Linked DNA regions of Homo sapiens: all the other regions are linked to region 2. Evidence: promoter capture Hi-C in 16 types of primary human blood cells and fetal thymus (Javierre and others, 2016). All regions are on one chromosome and are shown on one strand. Each heading gives the region's core, a stretch centred on a gene start or on the middle of the fragment in contact. The rest is flanking DNA. Distances are from core to core; before and after follow the strand shown. Region 1 overlaps MAD2L1-DT (MAD2L1 divergent transcript). Region 2 holds the start of PRDM5 (PR/SET domain 5). Region 3 overlaps MAD2L1 (mitotic arrest deficient 2 like 1). Region 4 overlaps MAD2L1-DT (MAD2L1 divergent transcript). Region 5 overlaps MAD2L1-DT (MAD2L1 divergent transcript). Region 6 overlaps MAD2L1-DT (MAD2L1 divergent transcript).

Evidence for each region. The method cuts DNA at HindIII sites, captures the fragments that hold promoters and counts their contacts. A CHiCAGO score of 5 or more calls a contact.
Region 1: a fragment that was not itself captured here is called in contact with the fragment with the promoter of PRDM5 in region 2 in 1 of 17 cell types (erythroblasts); the score reaches 5.7 in erythroblasts.
Region 3: a fragment that was not itself captured here is called in contact with the fragment with the promoter of PRDM5 in region 2 in 1 of 17 cell types (erythroblasts); the score reaches 6.3 in erythroblasts.
Region 4: a fragment that was not itself captured here is called in contact with the fragment with the promoter of PRDM5 in region 2 in 2 of 17 cell types (M2 macrophages and monocytes); the score reaches 5.3 in M2 macrophages.
Region 5: a contact is called between a fragment that was not itself captured here and the fragment with the promoter of PRDM5 in region 2, in 2 of 17 cell types (erythroblasts and endothelial precursors). The highest score is 7.1, in erythroblasts.
Region 6: a fragment that was not itself captured here is called in contact with the fragment with the promoter of PRDM5 in region 2 in 5 of 17 cell types (erythroblasts, endothelial precursors, M2 macrophages and 2 more); the score reaches 9.5 in erythroblasts.

What each region holds. Positions count from the first base shown.
Region 1 is chr4:120,112,816-120,115,725 of GRCh38, reverse strand. All of the region lies in intron 2 of MAD2L1-DT (MAD2L1 divergent transcript), which reads right to left. Among named protein-coding and RNA genes, the nearest start is that of MAD2L1-DT, 47 kb to the right of the region's middle. The HindIII fragment of the contact is 2,921 bases long and covers 185-2,910 here.
Region 2 is chr4:120,921,401-120,924,139 of GRCh38, reverse strand. It overlaps PRDM5 (PR/SET domain 5), which reads left to right and starts at 1,414. Exons shown (of 16, transcript NM_018699.4): 1 at 1,414-1,624. The coding sequence starts at 1,532. LOC105377399 (a long non-coding RNA gene) reads right to left here and starts at 1,204. Exons shown (of 2, transcript XR_001741804.2): 1 at 813-1,204. The HindIII fragment of the contact is 4,297 bases long and covers 1-2,739 here.
Region 3 is chr4:120,054,284-120,057,077 of GRCh38, reverse strand. It overlaps MAD2L1 (mitotic arrest deficient 2 like 1), which reads left to right. Exons shown (of 5, transcript NM_002358.4): 5 at 1-1,455. Among named protein-coding and RNA genes, the nearest start is that of MAD2L1, 11 kb to the left of the region's middle. The HindIII fragment of the contact is 1,190 bases long and covers 698-1,887 here.
Region 4 is chr4:120,133,504-120,136,406 of GRCh38, reverse strand. All of the region lies in intron 2 of MAD2L1-DT (MAD2L1 divergent transcript), which reads right to left. Among named protein-coding and RNA genes, the nearest start is that of MAD2L1-DT, 68 kb to the right of the region's middle. The HindIII fragment of the contact is 2,947 bases long and covers 1-2,817 here.
Region 5 is chr4:120,151,129-120,153,934 of GRCh38, reverse strand. All of the region lies in intron 3 of MAD2L1-DT (MAD2L1 divergent transcript), which reads right to left. Among named protein-coding and RNA genes, the nearest start is that of MAD2L1-DT, 86 kb to the right of the region's middle. The HindIII fragment of the contact is 2,384 bases long and covers 125-2,508 here.
Region 6 is chr4:120,077,633-120,080,560 of GRCh38, reverse strand. The region is part of intron 1 of MAD2L1-DT (MAD2L1 divergent transcript); the gene reads right to left. Among named protein-coding and RNA genes, the nearest start is that of MAD2L1-DT, 12 kb to the right of the region's middle. The HindIII fragment of the contact is 3,295 bases long and covers 1-2,928 here.

The sequences.
Region 1 (2,910 bases), core at 396-2,895, 810 kb after region 2:
AAGTGTCAAATTTTAAGTGCAGTATTTGAAATAGGTTTTAAATGGAATTTTCCATTTTAAAAGCAAGCTAACTGTGAGACAACATTTTTATTTACAAATATGTTACATACATAATTCTGAGGCAGTCTATTTTTGCTACTACTTTATTGTTCAATTATGTACATAAAAGAAAAATATGAAAGCTTTGAGAAAATAATATGAAAACCTAATAATTTTTAGTTTATAATCTATAATCTCACACATGACATTCATTATATGGTTATGAAAAATTATTCTTCTCAAATTTATGCCAGTAAAACAGATAAGAAAATTCTTGCATTTTCAGCAATAAGTTGATATGATGAATTTTTGAAATTTTATTCCACATCTCTTAAGTAATTTTTTGCTTTGCAAGCCATATGTGTGATTTAAGTCCATATGTGTTGTTGTAAGTCCCATAAATCTCTTTCTTTTCTAAATTGCTATGGTTAACATTTATTTTAATTATCATTGATTAATTTTTTTTAACAAAAGTCCAATTATCTTAGTGTGAGATCCCATTCTGTGTGTTATAGGAAGTCCACATCTACTAAGATTTCTTAACCTTTGTGTTTTTAAGAATTCCCAGGGAAGGATTACACTGTCCAACAAATATGTCTTGGCTATAGCTTCTCACCTCTGGTTCCAGACATTCCTCTGTTGTCACTTGGGACCTCTCACAGGAGCTTCCCTAGTAGCTGAACACCCACTAAGTTCTGATTTGCCTCAATGTATCAAGAGCATCTCATCTTCTACAGAAGGCAATCCTGTTTGTTCATTTAATTCTGCCTACAGTCTGGGCTCCTACTAACTCTTTAGGACTCCAGAAAGGAAATCATCCTATTTCTCACATTTCACATCTTATTCACTGCCCAGTGATAGGATGGTTGACCAAATGCCAAGTGTGTTTAAGCAGCTTAAATAAATTCCCCAAATCTGGTTTATCTAATCTATCATAACCTTAGTAGTGGAATACCAGCAGTTCAGCCCAGATTTCACTGTGCCAAGCCTAATCAAATCCATTCAATTTTCAGTCTTATTTCTAGTATAAAATAAAGAGAAATTCACATATTTATTTCCCTCCTAGTTTGGTCTAGTCTTACAGTTTTATAAGTGCAAACACTTATAGTGAAATAATGTACATGTTCCCAAAAAATTAATCCTTTTTAATCTGCAGTGCCTTCAATTTTGATTTGGGAAGTCTTCAAGCAAATCCAATTCAGACTTAGAAATAAAAAAATAAAAAATAACTTTATAGGAGCAATGTTACTAAAATGACACCCAACTTATTTTATTAAACAGAAAATTTAATTTCTCAGCCAGAAAAATGATTTTGGAGTTTTTTTTGTTTTTGTTTTTGTTTTTTGTTTTTTTTGCAGGCGATGAAGGCCCCTTACGGGGAGTTTTAAAATAATACTTTATGTGGTGAAAGAGTTCTCCAAAGATACAACCAAATTTCACTGCCTACTTTTAAGTTTTAGGAAAAAATTTTAAACCTTTAAAATGGAAGTTTGAGTCTACTTTTTAGCCATTAAGTTTTTATAAATATTGGGATTATTCTCAGAGTATCCTGCTACTATAAAATAATTCCTATAAAATTTCTTGAAATGGAGTGTAACAGTTGTTTACACCTTAGGTATGGACTCAAGTTTCCCTCCTGAGTCCAAAAGGCTCAGGTCCAACACATTTCTTGTGAGTCCAACGAAAAGGGACAGTGCTCTGAATGTTGCCAATGCTATAGCACAGTTGCTCTGATCCCAGGGTAGAAATACCAAGAAAATGAAGCTGGACATGTATTCTTTTGGATTCAGTGTTGTCAATTGTGGTCACTCTACTGACCTTCTTTAGCTCCATCCCTGACAATTTCACCAGTTTGCTGCTTCACAAGAACACAGATGTAGTAGACTGTCATAGTGGCGTGATATTTTATCTTAGGTCTGTCCAGACTTTTTAACCCAATAAGAACATTCAAGAACTTGAGAGAATCTGCTTTAGTATCAAACCTTAGATATTCATAAATTCAGGTGAAAAATAAAAAAAAAAATTTATTCACAAAATTGCTATTATATGAGTATAACATTGCAATATCTCTAGTGATATTTAACCACTGTTGCCTTTAATTTTTAGGTCCAAAATAAGGTGAGGATAATGATGACAATGTGGTAGCTTAGTCAAGCGTCTCACACTTCATCTGCTGCAAGCCAGTGTTTAATTTGCAACCTTTACAGCCTACTGTACTTATTTGAAAATAGAGGCCGGGTTAATAGGGGAAATGCACAAACCTCAGGTGCATATACCTGTTTGATGTGACGCAGGTGTTTGATTTTTCCTCTGAAAGATCCACAGCAGCATGAGGAGATAACCTTAGGCTAGCAGCAACCCGTTGGGGACTTTTTTATATTTGGTCAGCCATTTATCTTGTTGGCACATGGCACCACATGTATGACTTTTACTGCTTTGTTTTTTTATTTTCTGTAGATAGCCTCATTACTTGAGAAAGTGTAATAAAACCTTTGTTTTCCTGAGATCAGTCTTATCCTTCACTTTCAATAGTACCTGAGGGTTCTGCAAACATTCTAAAGGAAAACTTACAGCCCAACAGCTTTCTCGGCTCACACACTGCAGCAACACACAGTGGCCACATAAGACATGTATTTCCTGGTATGAATTAGACCCAACAATTCAGTTACAACAATATGCCTCATGAGACAAAGAGGTCAACATGGACAAAGAAAGCCCCCTCCACAAGATGTCAGAAACATAGTTCTATACAATAATCCCTCTATACAATCCACTGAGACCATATGAGTAGAATAACATCCTGCTCCTTTATCCCAAAGAAAACAAAACTGAAATATTAAATTCTAGAAATTTCATACAAATGAAAAATCA
Region 2 (2,739 bases), core at 165-2,664:
ATCATTTACTGTGTTCCTTAAAGTCTCCGAATATTGCCACTACATGATTTTTTTTTCCCATAATGCCTTTTGTTCTTGTTTTTTAAACCTTTTTCCAAACTTGAATCAAAATCTACATAGGGGCCGGGTGTGGTAGCTCAAGTGTGTAATCCCAGCACTTCAGGAGGCCAACGCCGCCGGAGGATCCCTTAAGCCCAGGAGTTCAAGATCAACCTGGGAGACATAGCTAGACCCTGTCAAAAAAAAAAAAAAAAAAAAATCTGCTTAGGAACTATGTTCCAAGGGTTTCCTGCAGAAACAGGAATCGTTTCCATGGTGTGTGTGTGTAGTCTGTAATTTTGTCAAACTTTTGTGTGTGCTTTTAATGGTTTATGAGAACATCAATTAAGAACATCAAATGGTTTCCGAGAAAAGACCCTAGAGTAGAAAATTACCATAAATATCAAGAGAAATGAGTAGATGACCCCAGGATCACTTTGAAGGATGAAACAGGCTTTTAAAGGTCCTGGGCACACTGCACAGCCTAACAGCTTATTAAAAACACTAAAACAAGACTTGTGACTTTATTGCATTGTTGTGACACCAGATGCTATTGTTTGGGTGTCCCCTCCTGTCTCCCACAAATCCACTTCCGTATGTCTGAAAATCCGTAATACGTCTAATGATTATCAAGCAAGGGAGGTCTCAGGAATATTGTACCTTGAGAAGTATAAGAACTTCCCAGAGGTTATGTTACCATAAAATATCTAGTTTCTAGTGCTTAAAACATTAAATTGTTTGCAACATATTTTTCCGTACGTTAATCAACATACTTTGCGATCCCTTATTAAGTTCTAGCCTCTGCAACAAACGTGAAAAAAAGCAAAGACGCATAACTCAAATGTGAGAAGCACGGAAATTTCCTAGACCGCAGGGTTCGTTCTCAGTAGTCGGCAATAAGCTGGCTTTCAGAGTCAGGAACTTGATAAAGTTGTTTTGGAGGATGCCCCAGCTGTGTGAAGGTCCATTTCGTTTTGCATCTGAAGAGAAGCAAGCGAGACTCCCCTACAGGGAGTAATGGTTCAGCGGGGCAAGGTTTGAAAACCCAGAGCTGGACAAAGGCGGGAACGCACGCCGCCGCGCCGGGGCTAGGGGTGCTGACGGCCCGCGCAGCTCGCGGGCCTCCGGGTTTGAGGCCCTGGGGTCAGCCCTGCTCCGGGCTTCGCGCCCGGGCGCGGGTCAGAGCCGCCAACTTCGGGCCAATCAGCGAGCGGCGTCCCGGCGCCCGCAGCGCCCAGGCCCGCGCCCCCCGCGCCCCCGCAGCAGGAATGGCAGGAACGGATCCGGGCCGAGCCCGACCCGGGACGAGGAGGGGCTGAGCCGCGGGGGATCCTGGAATCGGCAGGGAGGTGGGGATTCTGGGAGGAAAACTCCATTTCCTCCTTCCCTGCCGGTTTCTCCCCTCTACCCTGGCACCCCAAATTTCGATGTGCCGCCTGCCGGGCGCTAAGCGCCGGTGTTGAGAGAGGCGGCGGCCGCCGCGCCCGGGAAAATGCTGGGCATGTACGTGCCGGACAGGTTCTCCCTGAAGTCCTCCCGGGTTCAGGACGGCATGGGGCTCTACACGGCCCGCAGAGTGCGAAAGGTGGGTGACCCGGCGGCGGCCTGCGCGCCCCTGCACCTCGCGCGCCCTGTGCCTCCCGGAGTCGCCCTGCCGCAGGGCCCGGGGCGCGGCGGGCTTCACCCCGGTCGCCCCTCGCCCGGGCCGGGCCAGGCGTCCGTGGGAAGGCCGGGGACCGCGGGGCACGGCGGGGGTGGCCTTTACTCGCTGCGCCACCCGAGCAGGCAGCGCCACGTAGGTGGCGGCGGGGTGCGCTCCGCTGCCGGCCGGTCCAGGGGCGGAACTGCCACCGGCCTCCCTGCCGCAAGATGTCTTTCCTCTCTCCCGCAGGAAGTGAGCGCGGCGGGAGCCTCCCTCTTCCTCGGTTACGGGTGTGAGCTGCGTCTTTGCGTTGGCGAAGGCACGCGTGGGCGGGTGTTTTCCCCCGCGCGCACGCTGCTCCGCTGTCGCCTCTTTTCCTTTAGGATGAATTAATGTGGCTAGAAACGCCTAACTTTCCATGCGGGGATGGGAGGAGCAGCCCAGAGCGCCGCTCCACGCAGGCCGTAGAATCTCATTCATACGCCCAGGATTTCCTTCCCTCCTTCTGGAATGTATTATATGTGCCTTCAGGGAGGTGCCAACCAGATGATCTTTGAGTGTCTATACCTTTTTTCTCCGCTCTTTTTTTTTTTAATTTGTCTCCAACATCGGTTCGATCTCTCCAGCCAGAAAGTTACAGGCATGTGATGAGAGGAAGCACATTGCTCAGTTCGTACAGGAAGGGCCTGAAAGTGTTGGATGTTGAAAGCAAAGGCCTAGGAAGAGAGGCCACAGGAAAAGTCCAGCTCTTTGGATTTGATCTTATAATATTATAACTTGTTAGAGTCGTCCTAGCCGTCCTCGCCCCCTTTTCTTAGTAGATATTTTGTAAGATGGAGGTTTGGGCAAGAACAGGCTTGTTCAGGTAAGGTATGTTAACAAGAGGTTCAGAGGATGCAGTAGAGACACTAGGGTGCCTTTCATCTGCATATAACCCTCTCCCCTTTGCCTCTGACCTAAAGAGCTGGTGAAGAGTAGTAGAAAGTGCTAGTAATCCCCAAAAAGGGCTCCACTGACAACATGATCTCCAGTCATCCTTCAGGGCAAAATTGGAGAAA
Region 3 (2,794 bases), core at 43-2,542, 870 kb after region 2:
GGCCCCAGGGTTGTAGCTTACCAGTCCTGTAACAGATCACAGTTTGCTCTTTTGGTCACAAATACTTGAACCCCTCCCTAGTTCAGAGCATTTGATACCGTAATATTTAAAGCTCACTTGTAAAACATCGTTTGTTGCCTCCATCCATAGTATCTCAAACAGAATGTCTCTCCCAAATATACCTAAATTCCATATTCTCTGAAGCACAACCAGCTATTTTCTTGACATACTTCCTAACACACCCCACAGTTCACAATTTGATCTGAAAACTTGTTAAGGGAGGTTCTTTGGCATGTGATGCCATAAAAAGAGAGGTATGGGCTCTCCTTTAAAAAAGAGACCCTTTTTATGAGACTCACAATAGGATAAAGAGCCCATGCCTATTTTTAATCATTTTTTCACTATATAGACATGCATGCTGAAAAATGTTTTTATTAGTATAATGCTAATTATACTGACTTCCTATATATTTTAGCATATAGATTCAAAGATTATTAGCACAATAAGGTAGATAACTTCATAGACCATTTCTTCATCTTGTTTTCATTTAGTATGTAAAATTTATCTAAAATTTACATGAAAGATCAGAATAGCTATGTAATGCTACTTTGTAACTCTTATATTTTCCACCAGATGTCACTAATGCTGTAATATTCAAATTAAGATGACTTTCTTTTGGTTCTAAAGGCTGTAAGCTTATTGGAAAAGCAAGGTTACTCAGCATTGGAATTCCTGGCAACAAATATATAAATACATTAGGGGAATAAACACTTAGCATTTATTATTTACTAGTCACTTCACATGAATTTTTATTTAATTCTCATGCTTTTGTGCACAAGTAAAACTGGGGGTCAATGGGCATGCAAATTGTGTCGTGGTTTTTGAAGTTTAGTGGTCTCTCCTATCCCTGGCCAAGGAAGTATGCAAATTGTATTGTGGTTTTTGAAGTTTAGGTGATCTCTTCCTTCTATCCCTAGCCAAGGAAGTTCATCCTGACTCCCCAACAAGCATATCAAAAGGAGTGTTTCGTCACCTTTTTCCTCTTACCCTTTACATCCTTTTAGCAATAAAGTGTTCAGAACAAACTGGTTTTCCTTTACTGTGCTTTGCAAAACTTATTCATGTTTTATTGGGTGACTTTGTATTTACACTTTCCTCAGATAGTCTGTTGTCAGATGACTTTGACCAATGATTGGGAGGAACCAAATACAGAGGATTTTATCCTATGCCTAATCTATATTGTCTACAGAGTAAATCAGGTATGAATTTGTGAACAGTAATGAAACAATTTTCCAACTAATCAGAAGAATTGTTTGTTAAGTAACCTTAATTACTCAGTTTTTGGTGAATTGTTTGCGGCTTAACTTGTAAATAATTTCTTATTCTTTTTTTAAATGTATGAAATATTTCTAGTTATTTTGTTCAATGTGACTGATAAAAGTTTATATTGGAATAGCTGTGAAATGGAAACTGTCTACTCAATTTTAAATTTTATTAGTTATATATTTTTAAAAATAGATCTTTTAGAGATATTTCCATTCTTCATAATTATGACTTTTAAAGCCAGCAGTATTCACTGAGGCTAAAAAAAAAAAAAAAAACAAACGTAGTTGGGCAAGCTACTTAATCTTCATTAGAGTTGACAATTCTGTTCCAATCTGGCAAAAACATTGTAGCCCTAGCAACAAGACTATTAGAAAAGGCCTAGAGTGAAAAATGTCAGAGTTGACCCTCTGATTACACAAGTTGGTTTATGTTACCATGTCACCTATTTTTGTCCTCCACCATGTGATCTATTTTTATACCAGAGAAACATAATATAGTTACATTTACTTGTACAAAGCCCATTTCATCTACATTTATCTGCACCATTTTGCTATGCAAGCTTGTTTGCACAAAGGAACTTACATGAGATCAAAATCTTATTTTCTTGGAATTTTATCTGTGTGGAAAAAGGCATCCCAAATATAAGCTGGACCACCCATAGTCCATTTCCTTGCAAGGGAAAGAGTCCAAACACTTTAAAAAACTTTCTAGATATGGACATATCTAGTGGATGCCTAGACATGGATATGAATTTCTTTCTGAAATGGCAGTCTCACTGACCAAGTACAGATGCTAGTGGTTTTAAAGATTGGGTCTGTGATGTGCAAAATATTTCATATCTAACATGCAGTTATTGGATCACTGTGTTCACACTCATAAGAGTCAGTACAGCTCTTTAAAAACAGGCTGTAAAGCTTACAGCCTCCAAGTCTAGGAAAGGAAATTCATGGGTATTGATCATCTACTGTATGCCAGGCACCACTGAAGTGCTTTACATCTGTTCAGCTGACTCCTAAATGAATGGAGGTTGGGGTTAGTGGGGAAATGGAAGACTTGGGCCACAAGCTGTGGTCTTAGAAACTGATGATGGGACATGGGGAGAGCCATGAGATAAAGGAAATTAAGTCTGAGTTCCAAATGAGGAGTCCTCTGGAGCAAGGAACAGCCCCCAAACCTCAATTTAGGGCTGTGAGGGAGAAGAGGGTGGGGAGAGAAGGACTGCATCCAAAATGGAAATTCTACAACTCCGCTGATGCCTCCATCGCCCCAGAGGAGACCCATAAAGCAAAACCATGAAGAAACACTGGGGAGTCTGAATCCTTTATAGAACATCTTTAGCTCAGTTTGTGGGCAGGGAAGGGATCAGTCTTCAAATTCATTCATTACATGCATTATCTCAATCCTTGCAACAACCCTGTGAGAATTGATATCCCCACTTTATAGATTTAAGAACTAAGATTCAGGAAGG
Region 4 (2,903 bases), core at 95-2,594, 790 kb after region 2:
CAGCCAGTGGCATCTAGCCTTTTGTGGCTGTTTATTATAAGAAGGTGTACTAGTGGTAGGAAACAACCACATCTGTGAAAGGCTCAAAATAGTGACTCCAATCCCAGAAAATATATTTTCCTACAAGAAACAAGAAAGTGTTTTCACGAAAAATAAATTGTAATAGAAATTAAAGTTTCTGGATAATGTAAACTTTTTTGTTTTTTTTAATTAAGCATGTCATATAATGTAAATGCTTTATGTTGATTGAAATAAATGCCAAAGGTAATCATAATTATTTTCTTTTTCTAAGATCCAAAAAATAATTTAACCTTTATACCAGATGAATCAAAGTTATGTAAGACTTTTAGAAATGTTTTTATGTCATTTCCTGTTGATCTCATGATCAAATTACCACCACACAAATTTTTCATATCTATAATTCTAAAAAGCCAGATTTCCAAGAAAATCCTGAAATTCCCAGAAAATAATACTTGAAACTCTAAGTATTTCCCTTCAAATGACAACAGATAAGTGATAACTTTTTTGGCATTAGCACCTTCAGCATTTAACCTCTGATAAGCCTGAACACAGACAAATATTACAGAGATCTTCATTCAACACATAGCAGTAAAAATTTCACTAAATCCTGCCTTGGGATATGAATGTCTTTTTACTGAGCCATTGAAATCTGTATATATTTTCTTTGAGAAATAGATTTTTGTGACCATGGAAATGTTTTCTTCTATGAATCACTGAAAAACATGATATATGTTCCTCCAAATTAATGAATTATCCATAATTATATAACAACTTTAGGTCATTTATAGTATTTAAAATGTCTGCCTATTACACTGATAGTGTCACATCCCTGAATAAAACAAGGTCTTATTTTTCTTTTTGTCATTTCTTTTCTTTGCAGACCCCAAATATTTTATTTATTTCTCATTGACTACCCACTGTATTACTGTATCCCACATTAATTTCGTCCCATCGTTTTCCGGATGTATCTACTGAGTAGAAAGTCCAGAAATTTTGAAGGAAGCAAAGAAAAAATAGCAGCAGTTTGTAAAGATTCTAGATCGATTTCATCAGTGACATTCTGTCAAATGGAATTCTTATACCTCTCACTATAACTCAGTAAGGACTGGCTCCTGGAGACATGAACAGTTTTAGATACTCTGACATTTAATGTCAACCAATGTATTGAGGACAGCCATTGTAACCATAAAATTGTATTTTTACCCTTAGAAACAATGTTTCATCATTATAGGCTGTCACTATTATTCGCTAGTACAATTAAGGTATTTTTCTTTCTGAGTCTTTGTATGACCTAAAATCACATAATCATGACTTATACTAAACAGGACTGAACTGTCTTAAGTAGATATTTATGTCTGGTTTATAAGTCTGCGTGTCTATGAAACAGGAAGATACTTTTAACTGTTAAAATCTCCCTGCAACATGACTTAAATGTTCTCATATATTTCCTCTATTACTAGCTTTATTATTTGCTAATTGTTAATTCATCTATAAGTGTTGCTTTAAATTAACATAAAATTTTCTATATACACACATGTAGATAGGCCCACCTGTAATAAATTATAAACCCACCTTTTAATATGGTGTGTTTATTCCTGCTTTTTTCTGGATAAATTTAATCCTTCCTCATTCTAAATCGATGTTTTCCAATTTTGATCTATGACTCAGTCCACTTCAAATAAATCTGAGAAATAAAACATATCTATACTCCTTTTGAAAAACTAATGTACATTGTATATGGAAGGCCCTGATGACTCTCCAATAAAAGAAATTTTTTAAAAAATGTGGAATCCTTAACTTCCCACTGAACACTTTCATAGTATAACATGATATCCAGGAAAGTAACAATGCTTGGAGCACTTTTGAGGGCATGGGCTTGATACAAGAGTGGAAGATCATATATAATTTCTGTCACAGAGGAGGCATATCTATTTCTTCTAGAAAATAAATTGAATCACTAATCATCATTTCGCTATGTTCTAAAATTCCTGAAAATGTAACAGAGAGAGTCAGTCTGGTTACATTACATTGATTATATCATTTCGTTGAATCTAGAAACTACACAAATAATTATGATCAGGCCTAGAAATTGCTAAATATATATTTTATTTTATTGACAGACATGTATATATTCTTCTGTCACAGACCATATGCATTTAGAGATATATTTTGTTCATATATATTCTCTTCATAACCCAAAAAACTAGAATAACACTATTAAATCTTCTTATTATGAATGAAGACAGACATTGTGCTTTCCAAAGCAGCTACGGCCTCAGAAATATTCAACTTACACAGTAATTGGCACCTAAAAGCATTCATATATCAACCAAAATAATGAGGCAGTATGGGTTAAGGGTCTGAGTTCTAGATTCAGATCCTAGCTCTACCACCTTAATAGCTGTGTGATCTTGAAAAAAATTACCAATTTCTCTGAGTTTCATTAGGGAAATAACAACAGAACTTTTTTGTCATGGAGCAGTTTTCAGTAATAAATAAGATAATAAATGTGCAGCATGCAGCACAATAGTTGACATTATGAGCACCTGATAAGTCTTATATATTAATATTATCTAAATGGTCTGTTTCCACCTACAGAACACTCAGGGAAAATAAATTATTTTTCCTCCCCAAATACTTTCTATCATACAATTATGAAACCCAAAACAGCATGATGTCAAAATTATCAACATTTATAGGACTTTTAAGGAAACAAAAATGCATCTAAATTTCCATTGATTTGGTACAAATTAAATTTTATATTTAAAAACATGAAGATAAGAGAATATGCAAGCTTCTAAAAAGAAGCAATGCATGTCTATATCGGTACTCTTAAAAGTGCTTTAGGTTTATAAATCAAGATTGAATTCATGAGGCTAAAC
Region 5 (2,806 bases), core at 67-2,566, 770 kb after region 2:
TTACTGTTGATTTAAATTAATTATTATTTTAAATATATAAAATACTCTAAATAAATTAATAGTTCTTGGTTTTAATTTCTAAAAGAGTAAATACCTATAGATACAACCTACTTAAACAAAAGCTTCTTGGAGGCCTCAAAATTTATTTATTATTTATTTTTAAATTGACTTTCTCTTATTAAGAGCTTTTTTTTTTTTGTGAGATAGGGTCTTGCTCTGTCACTTAAGCTGGAGTGCAGTGGCGCTATCTCTGCTCACCGTAGCCTCCATCTCCCAGGTTCCAGGGATTCTCCTGCCTCAGGCCAAGTAGCTGGGACTACAGGCACACTCCACCATGCCCAGCTAATTTTTGTATATTTAGTAGAGATGGGGTTTCGCCATGTTGTCCAGGCTGGTCTCGAACTCCTGGACTCAAGCAATCCTTCTGTCTCAGCCTCCCAAAGTGCTGAGATTACAGGCATGAGCCACTGCACCAGCCTAATAGAGTAAATATCTATAGATATAACCTGCTTAACTAAAAGCTCCTTGGAGGGCTCAATAATTTTTAAAAGTGTAAAGGATTCCTGAGACCAAAATATTTGAAACCCCTTACACAAGACTTGTGTATAGTGGGTACACTACAATTTGAGTGCTGTTTTCACATTCACATCAGCTTGCAATTCTTACAATACAAAGAGTGCCTCAATAATAACTGGACTCCATGGACCTTTGGGCATACTTATTCAATATCAACATCTCAAATGTTAAAAATCACAACTTCCTAAGTCCATTCTAGTTCAGGCTGAAGCTCAATTATGTATAAGTCACACAAATGAGTTGAAAAAAATAAGGTTGCAATTGTAGGTTGGATTGTATCACTTAAGGTTTTGGATGCCAGGCTAAGGATGTATTTGTCCACGCTGTAGAAAGTCAATTAAGATTCTGAATATGAAATAGTGGGAAACAGAATTTGAAAGAAGTGTGTAAAATCAAGTGGAGATACAAATATTGAGGGCAGAGGAGAAAGGAGAAACACAAGTTCTAATGTAATAAAAATTACTACAAGAAAGAATGTATGTTTTATTTTTTAAAAATTAAAGACATTTGAAAAAAGGAAAAGAAATTATTTTTAAATGCTGTAAGTATATAAAGAGTATTCTGTGCAAAGCATAACTTACTTTCTGTTGTAATGCATGAGTTCTTTTATGAAGAAATGAACTTAAATTTTGGTCAAGTAACTTGGTTAAATTATAAGTTAAATTGTTGATCAATGAAGATGATTATACATTGGAATAGATCATAAACAGACAACAACATCTCTCTCTGAAGATATTATAAAGATTAGTAGTCCATATGATTATAAGCTACAGCAGATCTCTAATCGAGGCAGTACAATGAAAAGTACAGTGAAACACAGCTGAGAAGATCTGAATTCTGGTCTGATTATGACATACATTAACTTTTTCATCAGTAACATAGACATATTCTGGGTATCTTTTTTCATATCTTATATGTTCTTTATAAGGGCCATCTTGTACATGAAGGTACATGTTGAATATAAAATACTATTCACCAATTGATAACTTATGATGATGAGATCTGTGACAACTAAAAAGCCTATCTATTACTATGACTTTAGGAAAATCTAGAATTCATTCTTCTTTTACTCATATGTTTTATTCCAGGGACTGAGAAAATAGCAGTGAGTAAACAGATAGGATATTTGATGCTCTCAAACTAACAACAGAAACACAAGTTTTTAATAAAAATACTTGGGTTTATACTGGAAATCAATGTTCCCAGATCTTATAACAAATATAAGTATAAAAGTTATACAAGGTCCTGCTAAATGATATTTTCTTGATTTTTTTGGTGATTTTGTAAAAAGTTCAGCAAAAGGATAATTCAGAAATGTCGAAGTTGCAGAAGTTTGCAATTTGTTGATGGTTATGTTCCAAAAGGTACAGTATGTATCCTGAATGTTATCCAGACAAAAATCACAAAAGAATTCATTAAAAATAAACAAAATCAAATAAAGTTGGTAATTTAATCAAGTTTTGTGGTTTGCTTTCCTAAAATTGACTCAAATATGTTAAAAGATAATCCCCTGTGAGAGGATTTCCTAGATTTGCATTCTATCCTGTAATGAAAAGAGGTAAGTATATTGTATACACAGACATAAACAAAACCTCTGCTTATACACAAATACATATGCTATATATACATGTTTTTAAAGAGAGGGATTTATTTAGGTGAAATATATTATAGTCTTTTGAAAAATGCCTTTAAAATTTTTCTTTCCCCATAATGAAATACAGTAGAAAAAAAGATAATTTTACAAGAGTGTTTCATTGTTGCCATCTTTATATTTGAATAGAAACAAAAAGTTAATCTTATGACAAGCCAGGCTTTGATAAGCAACTCTTTGCATTCTCACAGCACATGTAGCAATAGATAATAAGATTGCCACAATTCAGTTGAGTAAGCACATCAATTGACAGTGAGATCAATAACAGATATTAATAAGCTTTTCCCCAAATACACACCACACACAACCACACACATACACACAGAGCTATTCCACAAAGCTTTAAACTTAAGTCATTTGAGATCAATTCCCTAATAATCAACTACTTTGCAAAAGAGGAAGGGAAAACTATTGGCTTAAGTTGGTAACTTTGTGACAGTAGTCCAATGGCAGGTATATGTCACATTACACACACCAAGAAAGGAAACCTACTTGTTTCCTCAGGTGCCAAAGATGGAAAGATAAAGTTGCATATTGAATGTTCACGGTGATGTTAATAACATTTTAATATTATTAGAC
Region 6 (2,928 bases), core at 183-2,682, 840 kb after region 2:
AGAATTAAAGGACTAAAAATCATCAGATATGGAAGATGGATAAAAAGGTGAAATTAATGAATCTATGATAATGAGGCAAAACCAGAGATTTTCCTGGCAATTATAGCACTTACTGGAATTTAAATAGTGAAGATAATTAAAATAGTGAAGTCTTAAGTGCCTCGACCTGGACTGTCACTATAGCTTTCCAATCTGTACTTCACCTGTGCTACAGTAACGTTACTAAAACACAACTTTATATTGTCCCCAATATAATTCTATAAAAACTTTTAGTGTCTCTCTAACGTCTCCTGAGAAAAGTCCAAACTTTTAGCCTGTCACACAAGGCTCTCTAGAAAAAGAACCCAGATGTAATCTGATCACATGAAGACTCTGTCCTGGGGAAAAGTGAGCTAATTTGATGCTTCCATATTTTGTCCCATAGATTTTTAAGTTCTGTGCCTGTGACGTCCTCTCTCTACACATCTATACCTATAAAGGTTTTTATCCCCACCTTTACTTTATGGTCCAGACTGGACTTTAATCATCTCCGTTAAACCTCTAATTGACACCCATCTTTGCCTGCCTAAGTTCTAAGCACTCTTCAAGTTCTAAGTACTCTTCAAAATGTTTATAACATATACTATACCTAACACTGTGGAAAATGTTTATAACTCTTCAAGTTTTACATCCTCCAAGAATATTTCTTTTGCTATCTTTGAATTTGTTTGGCAATTACTGCATACATTCAATTGTTTCTCATCCTGTACCTTCTTATGTGCAGCTATTTTTGTGTAATAATTCCCCAACTAGATTCCCAGCTAGATTTTTCCTCTTGCATCCATACAGCACCGCACTGTAAGATAAATAGTACTCAATAAATATCTATTTAGGAAAACAAATATCCATTTATTTCTCCTTCATTGACTTATCATCCCACTCCTCATAATGGCTGCTTTAAAAATCTTTCCAACTCTTGGCGTGGCGCAGTGGCTCACCCCTGTAATCCCAGCACTTTGGGAGGCCAAGGCGGGCGGATCATGAGGTCAGGAGATCGAGACCATCCTGGCTAACACAGTGAAACCCCGTCTCTACTAAAAAACACAAAAAATTAGCCTGGCGTGGTGGCGGGCTCCTCTAGTCCCAGCTACTCGGGAGGCTGAGGCAGGAGAATGGCATGAACTCGGGAGACGGAGCTTGCAGAGAGCCGAGATCGCGCCACTACACTCTAGCCTAGGCGACAGAGCAAGACCCTGTCTCAAAAAAAAAAAAAAAAAAAAATTTCCAACTCTTTTCACTTATGTGACATTATCTTTCCCTTCCTCCACTTCCCTATCTCACCTCCTCCTCCACTGAGAAGCTAAAGATTATTCTTTACTTGCATTTCAAGAAAAAATGAGAATTTATCTGCATCCTCACATCTCCCTTCTTCCTTGTTTTCAATTTCTAAGAGGGAATTGTCTCTTCTGTTTATTCTCTACTTGGGTCCTTGATGCCATTGCTTTCTGTGGCCTCAGGTGTCTGGCTCTATTAGTTAGGCCTTTCCAACTTTCAACTTCAGTATTTATATTTCTTTTGCTCTCTTTCCTCTAAATATCCTAAACATAAAATTCCCAAGATCCAGCAATTGCTTATGTGGTTTCTCCACTCTCCATTTCTCTTGCAAACCTTTTACTTCTATCTTCTTAGCCTTACTTCCAAACTCCTTGTAAAAGACTTTTATACCCTACCGTGTGACCCAAATTGTCTCCTCTTAGTTCACCAAAAATCTTTCAAGTACAAAATCTGTGACTCTTCCTCAGTCATTCTTATTTGTGCTGAATTATTTACTAAACTACTAAAATAGTATTTTTCTACCTAATCCAAATTCACTAAATAGGTTCTGACATTCCTCTCACAATTTGCCTCCTACTTTTCCATTTCTTCTGAGTTTCCTTCACTGCCTCTTCTTCCTCAATGTGTCATTTTATTAGCTATTACCTCAAAAAAAATTTTTTTTTTTTGCCTGGCCTAAAACCACTTGAAGGAAAATGAATCGAATGCCACAAACTTATCTATATCATCTCCATGTATAACAGCTCCACACCATGATCCCCCAAAACCCAGGCTGTTCTTCAGAGTACAACCAAACACATCTCAACACATTTTTAAAATGTCTCTCAAATTTGTCATCTTTTTACATTCCTGCTGTATTGCATATTCTCATTTCCTTTTGTCTGAGCTATCAATAAAATTGGCAGGACAAAGAGTAGGCTATTTCAAATGCCATTCTATCCCTTGGCCAGAATATTTGTTTAATGCCTCCTCTTAGTTCACTGAAGATCTTTTAAGTAGAAAATTGACAAGATCTTTTAAGCACAAAATTTTTAAAAAATTCCTGTTTTTGCAGCCCTAGTCAGGGTACCCCTTTTGGCCATCCACTCTTAGCCAGATGAGCCAGTATTGCACCCTGGATCCTACCTCTTGTTTCTTTTCCTCCAGTTTTGGACTCTTTTCTTCCACTTTTGGATTATTTTCCTTGTTCCAATTCTGTGACTTTCCAGCCATTCAGCTCCATTGGTTTCCATTGCTGAATGGGTCTCAGGAGTTACATAGCAAGGATGGAGGAATATTAAGGACCCACTATAGTTTGCCTCAAATTAGAGTTATCTAAAATATAGTCAGATCTTTGATGCTTTCAGGATTCATATTCTGGTACCATCTAGATTGCTTGGATTTGACTCCAGTTCTCCTAGCTGGGTGACCTTAGCTAAATTATTCAACTTCCTTCTGTAACTTAATTCAGGTAATAGTAGTATCTAACTCTTGAGCTAATGAGGGATTAAATAAAATGATTCTTGTAAAGCACATAGAAATGTGCCTGGCAGATAGTATGTGGTTAATAATGTTGGCTATCATTATTATATATGTTATAAGAGTTTCTATCTCATCTGTGCCTTAAGTTGTATT